3 separate regions of the Homo sapiens genome follow, and regions 2 and 3 are each linked to region 1. The links are contacts of gene promoters, found by promoter capture Hi-C in blood cells and fetal thymus (Javierre and others, 2016). All regions are on one chromosome and are shown on one strand. The core of a region is centred on a gene start or on the middle of the fragment in contact, and the rest is flanking DNA. Distances in the headings are between cores, read along the strand shown.

The links. The method cuts DNA at HindIII sites, captures the fragments that hold promoters and counts their contacts. A CHiCAGO score of 5 or more calls a contact.
Region 2: a fragment that was not itself captured here is called in contact with the fragment with the promoter of GPR183 in region 1 in 1 of 17 cell types (total CD4 T cells); the score reaches 5.3 in total CD4 T cells.
Region 3: a contact is called between a fragment that was not itself captured here and the fragment with the promoter of GPR183 in region 1, in 2 of 17 cell types (monocytes and non-activated CD4 T cells). The highest score is 5.9, in monocytes.

What each region holds. Positions count from the first base shown.
Region 1 is chr13:99,305,343-99,309,343 of GRCh38, reverse strand. It overlaps GPR183 (G protein-coupled receptor 183), which reads left to right and starts at 1,945. Exons shown (of 2, transcript NM_004951.5): 1 at 1,945-2,004. All of the region lies in intron 4 of UBAC2 (UBA domain containing 2), which reads right to left. The HindIII fragment of the contact is 4,315 bases long and covers 1-2,477 here.
Region 2 is chr13:99,503,245-99,507,245 of GRCh38, reverse strand. All of the region lies in intron 1 of TM9SF2 (transmembrane 9 superfamily member 2), which reads right to left. Among named protein-coding and RNA genes, the nearest start is that of TM9SF2, 3.8 kb to the right of the region's middle. The HindIII fragment of the contact is 4,426 bases long and covers 1-3,945 here.
Region 3 is chr13:99,171,831-99,175,831 of GRCh38, reverse strand. It overlaps the pseudogene RPS6P23. Among named protein-coding and RNA genes, the nearest start is that of UBAC2-AS1, 27 kb to the left of the region's middle. RefSeq lists an enhancer at 2,666-3,167. The HindIII fragment of the contact is 2,065 bases long and covers 1,060-3,124 here.

The DNA.
Region 1 (4,001 bases), core at 696-3,195:
AGGTCAAGAGATTGAGACCATCCTGGCCAACATGGTGAAACCTTGTCTCTACTAAAAATACAAAAATTAGCTGGGCATGGTGGCATATGCCTGTAGTCCCAGCTACTCGGGAGGCTGAGGCAGGAGAATTGCTTGAAGCCGGGAGGTGGAGGTTGCAGTGAGCCGACAGCACACCCCTGCACTCCAGCCTGGTGAGAGCGAGACTCTGTCTCAAAAAAAAAAAAGAAGGTTGGGAGGACAGATCCAGTTTGTCAGAGGAATTACTTGAACTAGCTGAGTCCTTCACTATATAAAAATGTTTTACTTAATATAACTATTTCAAAATTAACAGGCAAAACCCCACCAGAATGGTCTTTCAACAAACTGAAAAATTTATCAACAGTGTCTTCTTCAAGTACTCTGCAGCCTAAGTTTTAAATGAACTAGTTCTAGAATATGATGTCATGTTTATCCACCAAGTCATAAAATCTCTGTATTACCCCCTCATAGAATTTTTGTACTAGGAATTACCTTGGAGATCATTTAGTTCAATACCTTTATTTTATACACAGTGAGGTGGCGGCCCAAAGAATTCAGCTGACTTGCTTGATGCTCTTTCTTGTGTCTGACAATGTTCCTCCATACTCACAGCACTTTAGACGTTAGAAGAACCTAATGACATCTGTGGGAGGCAAAAGCTACTCGACTATTTTTACAGAATCCTGGAGCAGAAAGGCTTCTGAGATCACAGAGTTACAAATTCCTACCAAATGATTCAATTCTGTTTACATCATCCCTCAAAATCATCAAGTTTACTCAAGCATCTAAATAAGAAACAGCATATTCCATTTTTCAAAATAATCACAACTTTTGGGAATGACTCTCATCTTTTGATCCAAAAGCTATGTCCAGTAACTTCTTACTGACCCTCCCGCTAGTCTCTGGAGTTAGGAAGACTGACACAAGCAATGTAAACACTTTTCTATGAGAGTTTCCACAAGCATAAGGATAATGACCCTATGCCTACAAAGCATACACATCCCCAGCTTATTTAATCAGTTCTCCTAAGACCTGCTATCCAGGCCCCTCACTGCCACAGGTGTTATCTATGTCTTCGTAAAAAGCAGCACCCAGAAGTGGCTGGGAATGGCCAGATCAGTCCTGACTAAGTGTAAACATCACCTCTCCTGATCTGAGTGCTACATATCTGGTAATTTAGCCTACAAATAAACTGCATTCTGACAGACACGTTAGTTGGTTTAAACTGAGTCAACTACAACTATGAGGTGAATGGCATGAGTCTCTTTCACCCTGTGCTGAAGAGGCTGGATTTTATCTATAATGGGCCTCCCTTCAACTGTTTCCCTGTTATTCAAGTACTCACACAGCCTCTGACTCAGGCAGCCTCTCGACTGAAAACGGCGACTAATCCAGTCCACTCCACATCCTGGACTGTCACTCACCCCCACGCCACAGAAACCTGTTTCTTTCTCATAAGCTGTGGATAAGGTGGAATGTGTAAACTACTCCCTGATACCAAGTTTCCAGGTAAAAAGCACTGTCAAAGTTGACACTATTTTCCTTAAAACATTTAAAAACCCATACTTTTACATGCAAAATCAATATAAAATCATCAGTAACTTGGTCTTTTTTTTGGTTAAGGTTTATTGCTTCAGTCTCTTTCAAAGAATTTTTTGATACTTAAACCTTTACAGAAAAATTTATAAAGTTCCACAGATATCAACAATTCATAAATTCCAAGGGGCTTTTGGATAGTTTTTTTTAATCACTATAAAAAATTTCACTTCCCATTTAAAACAAAAAAAAACACAAAGTGCACACACGTACACGAGGCTAACTGCTCATTACATGCTCAGTCACAGGGTGACAGAGAAAAAAAAAGTCACCACCATAAAAGGAGGTCTGCACAGCCTCTCTTAAAACAACATGCCACAGTTAAAACTTACTTCAGTTTGGACAACTACTCACAGCTACTACACAGAGACCCGAACGAGTCACTGATATGTAAGTACAAGATCTTTTGCTTTTTCAACAAACTTTTTAAAGAAAAACTTTAAAAGCCTAAGTTTTAAGGTAAAAGGTAAAAAGGAAAACAATCTATTTAAGAACAAGCTACCATCACTTCTAACAAAAATTATATTAATAATGTAAGTTTACTCTCTCTGCTGACTGGTAGGTCTAGTTAGTTCTTATAAAGTTGACTGAAAGCGATGGGTCCACCAGAAATATCTTTGTCAAAAAATAGGGCTCACTTCATGTACTACTGTATAAACTCACAATGACAAAAGACAGTATCAAGCAAAACTATGCAAATAATGCCAATATTTCAGGATAACTTAGTATGAAGGAAAAGGAACAAAGTTATTTTAATATAGAATATTCCTATGCTATAGGAATTATTAGAAATATAAGATTATTTCTCAGGATAGAATCTCAGGGGTAGAATTCCTAGGGCAAAGGGTATATTTTCTAAAGCTTTAGATATAAAACGGTACTTTTTGGTCTACAAAAACATTTTACCAATTTACCCTCCCGCCAGCAAAGAGTACCAATCTTTGCTTTTTAAATGCTAAATACTACTAATTAGATAAGTGAAAAAAAAGTCTGTTGTGTGGTTTATACTTGTGTTTACTTAGACTAAACGTATCTTTTCTATGTGCCTGAGGGGAAAAAATCACAATGAATTCTATGCAGTGCTTTGGCAACATTTATGTCCAGGTTGGGAATGGTGGTAACAGAAACTTGGCAAAATAGAAGCTGTGAAGAGACTTCCTTTAAAGGGCAGTGAGGGTTTTATATATGTGTGTTTGTGTGTGTGTTGGGGGAGGGGGGCGTGGTATTTTGTTTTTTTGGTGTCACTCTGAGTACAATATAGTGTAATAAGAGCAAGGGCTCTGAAATCAGGATCAAATGAAATTTACAAGCTGTGTGGCCCCCCCACACACAAGTTACCTAATATCTGGCTTCAGCTGCTTTACCTGTAAAATGGGGAGTATTACTACTGCCAAGTCCTTACAACATTGCCTCTCATTATAAGTGCTAAAAAACTGTCTCCCATCATTCTTCTCCCATCTCTCTGGCCACTGACGTACCAGAGGGTGAATCCAACAGATATGTTATGGATATTTTACATAAAGACCCTGAATCAGGCTGGGTGTGGTGGCTCACTCCTGTAATCCCAGCACTTTGGGAGGCCGAGGCAGGCGGATCACCTGAGATCAGGAGTTCGAGACCAGCCTGGCCAACATGGTGAAACCCCATCTCTACTAAAAATATAAAAGTTAGCCAGGCACGGTGGCACTCACCTATAATCCCAGCTACTCAAGAGGGTGAGGCAGGAGAATCCCTTGAACCTGGGAGGCGGAGGTTGCAGTGAGCCGAGATTGCGCCACTGCACTCTAGCCTGGGCGACCATGCGAGACTCTGTCTCGATAGATAAATAAATAAATAAATAAATGGCCCTGAGTCTATGGATGATCACACATCTAACTGTGCTTACTGGTAGGACTGCACACTTCTTATATTTTAGCATGTTTTCTCTCTGCGGGTTCACTGCACTTTTTGGACATAAAACCACAAAGAATATGCTACTCCACAAAATGTTCACTCACATGTTTATGTATCGCGTTAGTGACAATGGTAATGATCCCTTGCATAAATTACTTTCATCTGGCTTCCTAGAGCTAATTAGTACCATGACCAGTCAGTTAATGGAATAAATATTAACTCAGGTTTCTATATGACTTTAATTCATTTATTTATTCTATAGATATTTACTAGATATCTATTGTAGGTTGGTTCTGTAGCATTCTATAGGATAAAATGTTGGATGAGATCAAGTCATCATCCTCAAGAAGCTTACATTTAAAAGAGCTTCGCACCTAATAAAGCCGTTTACAGGGATACTTTTCTCTCTGCTATGGTTAAGACCTGCTGGAGTTGTTAGGCAGCCCTGGACGTGGCCTGTGTAGAGGACGCGTGGTGTTCTCCAGTCTGGGGGG
Region 2 (4,001 bases), core at 483-2,982, 200 kb before region 1:
GTGGCGAAGAGCCTAGGCTTTTTGGACTCAGTCTTGGGCTTGTTTGCATTCTGGCTTTAATACTTACTAGCTTTGTACACTTGAGACAGCTACTAAATCTTATTGAGCTTCTGTTTCCTCATCTAAATATCACAGAGATGTTATGAAATTTAGCTAAGGCATATACAACACACACAAATCGTAGTCTTTACCATTATTATTAGCAAAGGGCAATAAACAGGTTTGAAAAGTGAGAAGAGGAGCAAAAAGAGAAAAAATTCACAAATTTCCTCCAAAGCCTTTCATAGATAGTTAATTTTAATGAAAATAGAATGAAATTGTTGGATACATGTAAAGCAGCTAAAATTAACTACAAAACTTACTGAGAGACCATGGTGACAGGAAGCTACAGGAGAGAATAGGGAAGTAAGGGTTTGGGCAGCTGGGCTCTAAGGCTGACAGTGCACAGACCAATCTCTGTAGTGCCGATGTGTGTCTGTGTGTTTGTGTTGGGGGTGTGAGGTGTGGAACATATATCTGTGATTTGTTTCAGACGTTCCAGTTTACACCTTTGGAAGTTCAAGTTTACACCCACTTTGGTGAGGGGCCACAGGCAGAAAGACACAATTTTATTCATAGACTTTTGTTGCTTTCTTGATTCTAACTCTCAGATTCACTATAATGAACAATTACAGTCTTAATTTTACTTAAAAATCTAATTTCTGAAAGGCAAACTATCTCAGTTTAACATACCTTTTCAGAAGAAGAAGAAACAATTGCTGGAATGTATATTTACCATAGTCAAAGTAAGTCCTTCCAGTGCCAGATTTCAGATTTGAAAGAGCAACACCCAAACACTAATGAGTTCCCAGAAGCTAAGAATCAATGCTCTTATTCCAGAGAGAACTGTGAGAATGTGAAACTACATATCGATAAATATTTATCACTATACCAATAAATACACATACAGATTTTTTTTCTTTAAGTATTTCAAAATCTTCAAACTACTTCTATGGTCAAATTAAAACAGGTACATATATATTCATTCTGTGTCCGTTCAGATCAACATTCAGGACTATTTTCTTAAAGCTGACTCATTCCAATATTTATACACAACTGCTCCCAGAATAACAAACACAACTTATAAAATGCTTCTAAAAATAACTACCAAGAAAGGAAAGTATGACTGAGTAATTTTCCTTTTTATTAAAAAGTTGTTAAACTAATTCATTTAAACATTGTTTTTAACCACTAGGGGGTATAATTGGTCATTTTTCCTTACAGCAAAGGAAAAAAAATCTTAATCTTTCATCTAAGAACGTGATCTATCCATCAAACAGTAAAAAAGTGGCAGACATTTTGGAGAATTAATACTATTTTTAGTTCTTAGTTCTGAATTCTGGTTGACAACCCAGTAATTACTTGAAAGTTGAAAGCAGCAAAGGTGAACTGCTCACTAATCTTCACCTCTTAGCCATCAGAATGCCACTCGGCACACTAAGATTTGATTTAAAGCTAAAAAGCACAAAGCTAACTGAAATAGTCAAAACTTTTACAAACTAAATTAGAACTGTGGATTTTATCCTGGAATATCTAGTCACTTATAATCAGGGCTTTATTCTACTTATTTCAGTCACACAGTGTCCCTTGATTTTAAGAAAGTAAAGTGAATTCTACAGGAAAGGAATACCATAGCTCAATCTTTTATTACTATGGTTTCAAAACGTAACAAAATAAGGCAAATAAAAGAAAAATATTAAAAGACACAGAAATTTCAATAGCAATGAAAGTAAAACATTTAAAAAGTGTACAGGCTGGGCGTGGTGGCTCACGCCTACAATCCCAACACTTTGGGAGGCTGAAGTGGGTGAATCACCTGAGAGCTCAGGAGTTCGAGACAAGCCTGGCCAACGTGGTGAAACCCCATCTCTACTAAAAATACAAAAATTAGCCGGGCATGGTGGCAGGCGCCTGTAATCCCAGCTACTCAGGGGGCTGAGGCAGGATAATTGCTTAAACTCAGGAGGTGGAGGTTACAGTGAGCCAAGATCGTGCCACTGCACTCCGGCCTGGGTGATAAGAGCAAAACTCCGTCTCAAAAAAAAAAAAAAAAAGTCTTAGGGACCATCACATCACTATTAAATTGATAAATAAAAATTAAAATGATGTGGCAACACAAGGTATTATTTAGTTAAAGGAAATCAAACCTATCATTGTTGAAAGAAATCTGGCAATACTAAACAGAACTAAAAACTTCTTCTTGTCTTTACCTAGAATTTTATATTTGGGGATATGCAAATAATTACTGCTAAATACACTGTAGCAAAGCTATTCATAATAGAGAAAAATTGGGCCCAATCTAAAGGCCCTACAAGTAAGAATGGTCAGGCAAACCACAGATTGTACAGGAACAGAATGAAATAGTATCGGCTATAAAAAGCAATAAGAATGTGCACCTCCTCAATATCCAAATGCACGCACATGTAAAATAAGTTAAAAAAAGGAGGCCATGAAAACATACTCACAGTATCTATGAAGGCTAAGAAAATTAATCAGAAGTTACAGCAATATAAATAGAATTTTATATTCACTGGACTCCTGTTTCTCTGCCAGTAAATTCAACATAAGATAATTTTTAAAGAGAGAAAATTACTAAATCCTCAGCATTCTTCTGATTCTCTCTCAATTTACATCCTGAGCTAAATGCATGAGACAAACTTTACAGTACATAAAAACACTCTACTACCTAAATTATATATAAGTTGAAGATATATTTGTTTCATCTCTACACTATCACAACAATGACAAATATTGCACTTTTCCTCTAAGAAATGCAAAATACCTTTCAAGGGGAATATGTCATAATCAAATATGATTATCCCTATTTTACAGATGGAAAAACTGTTGGTAACAGTATCAATGACCTGCCCAATTTCTCCAACTTCAGATTCACTAACTTAACAGCATCTTTTGGAAAAAATTATTTCCATTTCACAACTCTCATTTCTAATTTTTAAAAGAAGTTCCTTCCACTTTTCTGAATAATGTGTACAAGACTGTCCTCCTTAACAAATACGAAATAGATGAGAATAAATTATTAACATCCTGATTGAAGTAATACAAATTTCAACTGTTTACTGTTATTTATAGCATCTTCTTTGAAAGGCAAAGAAAATAAATATTAAAGTGTATTTCAAATTCTCTACACCAGTTAGTCATATCGCAGGAAAAAAGCTGAAAGTACACCCTCCTGCTCTTCTAAGAGTTGTTTCCATTAACCAGATGTGAGTGTAGCTGGCAATAAAGATAAAAATCCAAACATTTCGGAAAAATGATCTGCTCTGCCTGTTTTATCCCTATACCTATGAAAATTAAACATCCAAAATGACTCCCAAGATTAACTAAAAAATAACTAGAATACAACCTAGCCACTTACCAAAGGACCTGTTGAGAAAACAATCATCTAACTGGAAGACCACCTATAAGTTTCACTTATTCATTTTCTAAGTCCATCTCAAATGTCACTTCTTCTTCTTTTTTTTTTTTTTTTTTTTTTTGAGACAAAGTCTCGCTCTGTTGCCCAGGCTGGAGTGCAATGGCGCGATCTCAGCTCACTGCAACCTCCACCTCCAGAGTTCAAGCGATTCTTCCTGCCTCAGCCTCCCGAGTAGCTGGGATTACAGATGCCCGCCACCACGCCCAGCTAATTTTTGTATTTTTAGTAGAGACGCGGTTTCACCATATTGGCCAGGCTGGTCTTAAACTCCTGACTTCAGGTGATCCACCCGCCTCGGCCTCCCAATGTGTTGGGATTACAGGCGTGAGCCACCACACCTGGCCCTGTCACTTCTTCTATAGAGCTTTCCCTAAAGACTCTAGTCCACTGATGTTTCCTCATTTTGTTTTAGCACACTTTGGACATCATCCTGTGTAACAGATCAGATTTCAATAATCTGTTCATAAGCTTATGTCCCTTACTTTGAGGTTCCCAGAGGGCAGGAAATATATTTTTCATCTTTGAG
Region 3 (4,001 bases), core at 843-3,342, 130 kb after region 1:
GGGTTACATGTGTAGGTTTATTTTTTATTTTTTATGTTTTAATTTTTTTTGAGAGAGATTCGGGCTCTGTCGCCCAGGCTGCAGTGCAGTGGTGTGATCTCAGCTCACTGCAACCTCCACCTCCCAGGTTCAAGTGATTCTCCTGCCTCAGCCTCCTGAGTAGCTGGGACTTACAGGCACGTGCCACCATGCCCAGCTAATTTTTCGTATTTTTAATAGAGACATGATTTCACCATGTTAGCCAGGATGGTCTCGATCTCCTGACCTCGTTATCCATCTGCCTTGGGCTCCCAAAGTGCTGGGATTACAGGCGTGAGCCACTGCACCCAGCCTGTAGGTTTATTGTATAGGTAAACTTGTGTCATGGGATTTTGTTGTACAGATTCTTTTGTCACCCAGGTATTAATTACTCATTAATTATTTTTCTTTAGCCTCTTTTAATCTAGAATAGTACCCCCTTACTACTACCTTCTTGGGTTTTTTTGGTCACATGGAACTTTTGGGGTTCAGGTGAGTTTACTAGATTGTCCCCCGCTCCATGCTGAATTCGTATAATAGTTGCTTCATGTTTGGATTCAGATCAAATATACTTTGTAGGTGATGGTTTGTACTTCTCACTGCCTCATATCAGGAGGAACATAAAACCTGACCTGGGAATCACACAGTCAATAAATGCGTCTTAACAATATATTACGTTGTGTGGTGCGCTGAGTCCCCTGCTATACAATGAACACACAATGGGAGCCATTGATATGATTGGGACATGCAGAGATAATGAAAACCAAAGGGCAGGTTTGTGGGTTGGCAATAGGTGCACTTAACAGAAAATTCAACTCACAATAGTCCATCCAAATACAAGTCAGGAGGCAGGCAGCCCAGAGCTGATGCAACAGCTCCACCTAATTCAGGATCTTGCTCTCTTTCACTCTGCCATCACTGGGGTGTGGCCTTGGGTCTCATGAATCCAAGATGGCTTCTGCCCCCCAGACATTGGGACCCCTTCCAGGCAGGGAGGAGGAAAGGGGCATGCCAACTGCCCTGATCTCCTTTTAAGAAGCTTTCCTGGGGTGGCACCCAATGATTCTACTCACACCTCATTGGTTGGAACTGAGTCACATGCTGAACCCAACATGCACGATTGGGAAATGCAGTTGTCAGGAGCCTTGCGATCCTGAGCAAAAACATGGTTCTTTTAGAAAGGAAGAAGGAGAGAATGGATATTAGGTAGGCAATTGGGAGTCTTTGCCCTGAAGAATAAGGCAGGCTGGGGTTTGTTTTGTTTCTTGATGTGTGATTTTATTGTTTGTTATTCTTAGAAAAATCTCTTTTTTGTTTGTTTGTTTTGACAAGACTTAAACTTGGAGGTAGAATTTATCAAAGAGGACAGCTCTGTCTCTTGGCTATCTGTTCTTGGCAATTTGTTTGACCTCCTGCATTCTCTTGACCAAAAGTTCAGCATGTTCTGCTCTGCAACCTCTTATTTTCCTAAATATGCTGTTTTTTCAGAGCAATAGACGTACATTTGTGTTGCTGGACACATGGAATAACAAGACTGAATCTTGGGTGCTTTACTCCCAGGTCTCTTACTTTCTTTGTTTAGGGGCTTTCTCACAAAACACTGGTGTTCATGATCTTCTTAAGGAAGATGGAAATGTTTGTGGATTCTGCTATCTGTTCTGAGCCCCAGGATAGAGGCCCAGTAGCATCAGTCAGTCCAGGAATATTCTTCTTTCCTTTTTAGCTGATAGTTAAATTGAGAACACTCAGATTGGCATCCGTAGTGCAATCCAGAACAGACTTGAATTTTCTTTAAAAATTTTTTTAAGATAAAAGGTCTCACTCTGTCACCCAAGATAGAGTGCAGTAGTGTGATCACAGCTCATTGCAGCCTTGAACTCCTGGGTTCAAGCAATCCTCTTACCTCAGTTTCCCTAGTAGCTGGGATCACAGGCAAGAGCCACCACACCCAGCAGACTTGTGCCTCCTTTCTCCAGTTCTCCTTGGTCTCTAACAAGAATGCCCCTTACGCAATGGCACATGGGCACGGCCATGGTCAGGACATCTTGCTTCTTGGGGGAGACTTGCTTGTTGTTCCCCTCACTGTCTTGGACCACATAACCCTTCTGTTCTTTTCACCCAGAGCATCAGAATACACTTCTCAAAATTGGTCCAAAGTTCGTGTTCATCATCCACTTCAATGAGCTCCTGGCAGCCTGTGGCTGGGAAGATCAGCTTCATCTTGAAGCAGCTGATCACCTCCAAGTCCCCACGAAAAAGAAAAGACAGATTTTTGATGGCTAGTGAGACAGCTACACAGATTATATCAGGGTTTAAAAGTTCCCACAAGCCATTAAAAAATGGATTATTCCTGAGATCCTTTCCAAGATGGCCAAATAGGAACAGCTCCGGTCTGGAGCTCCCAGTGTGATTGACGCAGAAGATGGGTGATTTCTGCATTTCCAACTGAGGTACCTGGTTCATCTCACTGGGACTGGTTGGACAGTGGGTACAGCCCACGGAGGGCGAGCTGAAGCAGGGCGGTGTGTCGCCTCACCCAGGAAGCGCAAGCGGTCGGGGAATTTCCCTTTCCTAGCCAAGGGAAGCTGTGACAGACTGTACCTGGAAAAACGAGACACTCCCACCCAAATACTGTGCATTTCCCAAGGTCTTAGCAACCGGCAGACAAGGAGATTCTCTCCCGTGCCTGGCTGGGCGGGTCCCACGTCCATGGAGCCTTGCTCACTGCTAGAGCGGCAGTCTGAGATTGAACAGCGAGGTTGCAGCCTGGCTCGGGGAGGGCGTCTGCCATTGCTGAGGCTTGAGTAGGTAAACAAAGCGACCGGGAAGCTCAAACTGGGTGCAGCCCACCACAGCTCAATAAGGCCTACTGCCTCTAGACTCCACCTCTGTGGTCAGGGCTTAGCTGAACAAAAGGCAGTAGACAACTTCTGTAGACTTAAACATCCCTGTCTGACAGCTCTGAAGAGAGCAGTGGTTCTCCCCAACACAGCGTTTGAGAACGGACAGACTGCCTCCTCAAGTGGGTCCCTGACCCCCGTGTATCCTGACTCGGAGACACCTCCCAGTAGGAGCCGACAGGTGGGTGCCCCTCTGGGACGAAGCTTCCAGAAGAAGGATCAGGCAGCAATATTTGCTGTTCTGAAATATTTGCTGTTCTGCAGCCTCCACTGGTGATACCCAGGCAAACAGGGTCTGGAGTGGACCTCCAGCAAACTCCAATAGACCTGTAGCTGAGGGACCTGACTGTTAGAAGAAAAACTAACAAACAGAAAGCAATAGCATCAACATTAACAAAAAAGACATCCACACCAAAACCCCATGTGTAGGTCACCAACACCAAAGACCAAAGGTAGATAAAACCACAAAGATAGGGAGAAACCAGAGCAGAAAAGCTGAAAATTCTAAAAATCGGAGTGCCTCTTCTCCTCCAAAGGATTGCAGATCCTCGCTAGCAATGGAACAAAGCCAGATGGAGAATGACTTTGACGACTTGACAGAAGTAGGCTTTAGAAGGTTGGTAATAACAAACTTCTCTGAGCTAAAGGAGTATGTTTGAACCCATCGCAAGGAGGCTAAAAACCTTGAAAAAAGGTTAGGTGAATGACTAACTAGAATAAACAGTGTAGAGAAGACCTTAAATGACCTGATGGAGCTGAAAACCATGGCACGAGAACTTCATGACGCATGCACAAGCTTCAATAGCTGATTCGATCAAGTGGAAGAAAGGGTAACAGGGATTGAAGATCAAATTAATGAAATACAGCGAGAAGACAAGGTTAGAGAAAAAAGAGTAAAAAGAAATGAACAAAGCCTCCAAGAAACATGGGACTATGTGAAAAGACCAAATCTACATTTGACTGGTGTACCTAAAAGTGATGGGGAGAATGGAACCAAGTTGGAAAACACTCTTCAGGATATTACCCAGCAGAACTTCCCCAAGCTAGCAAAGCAAGCCAACATTCAAATTCAGGAAATACAGA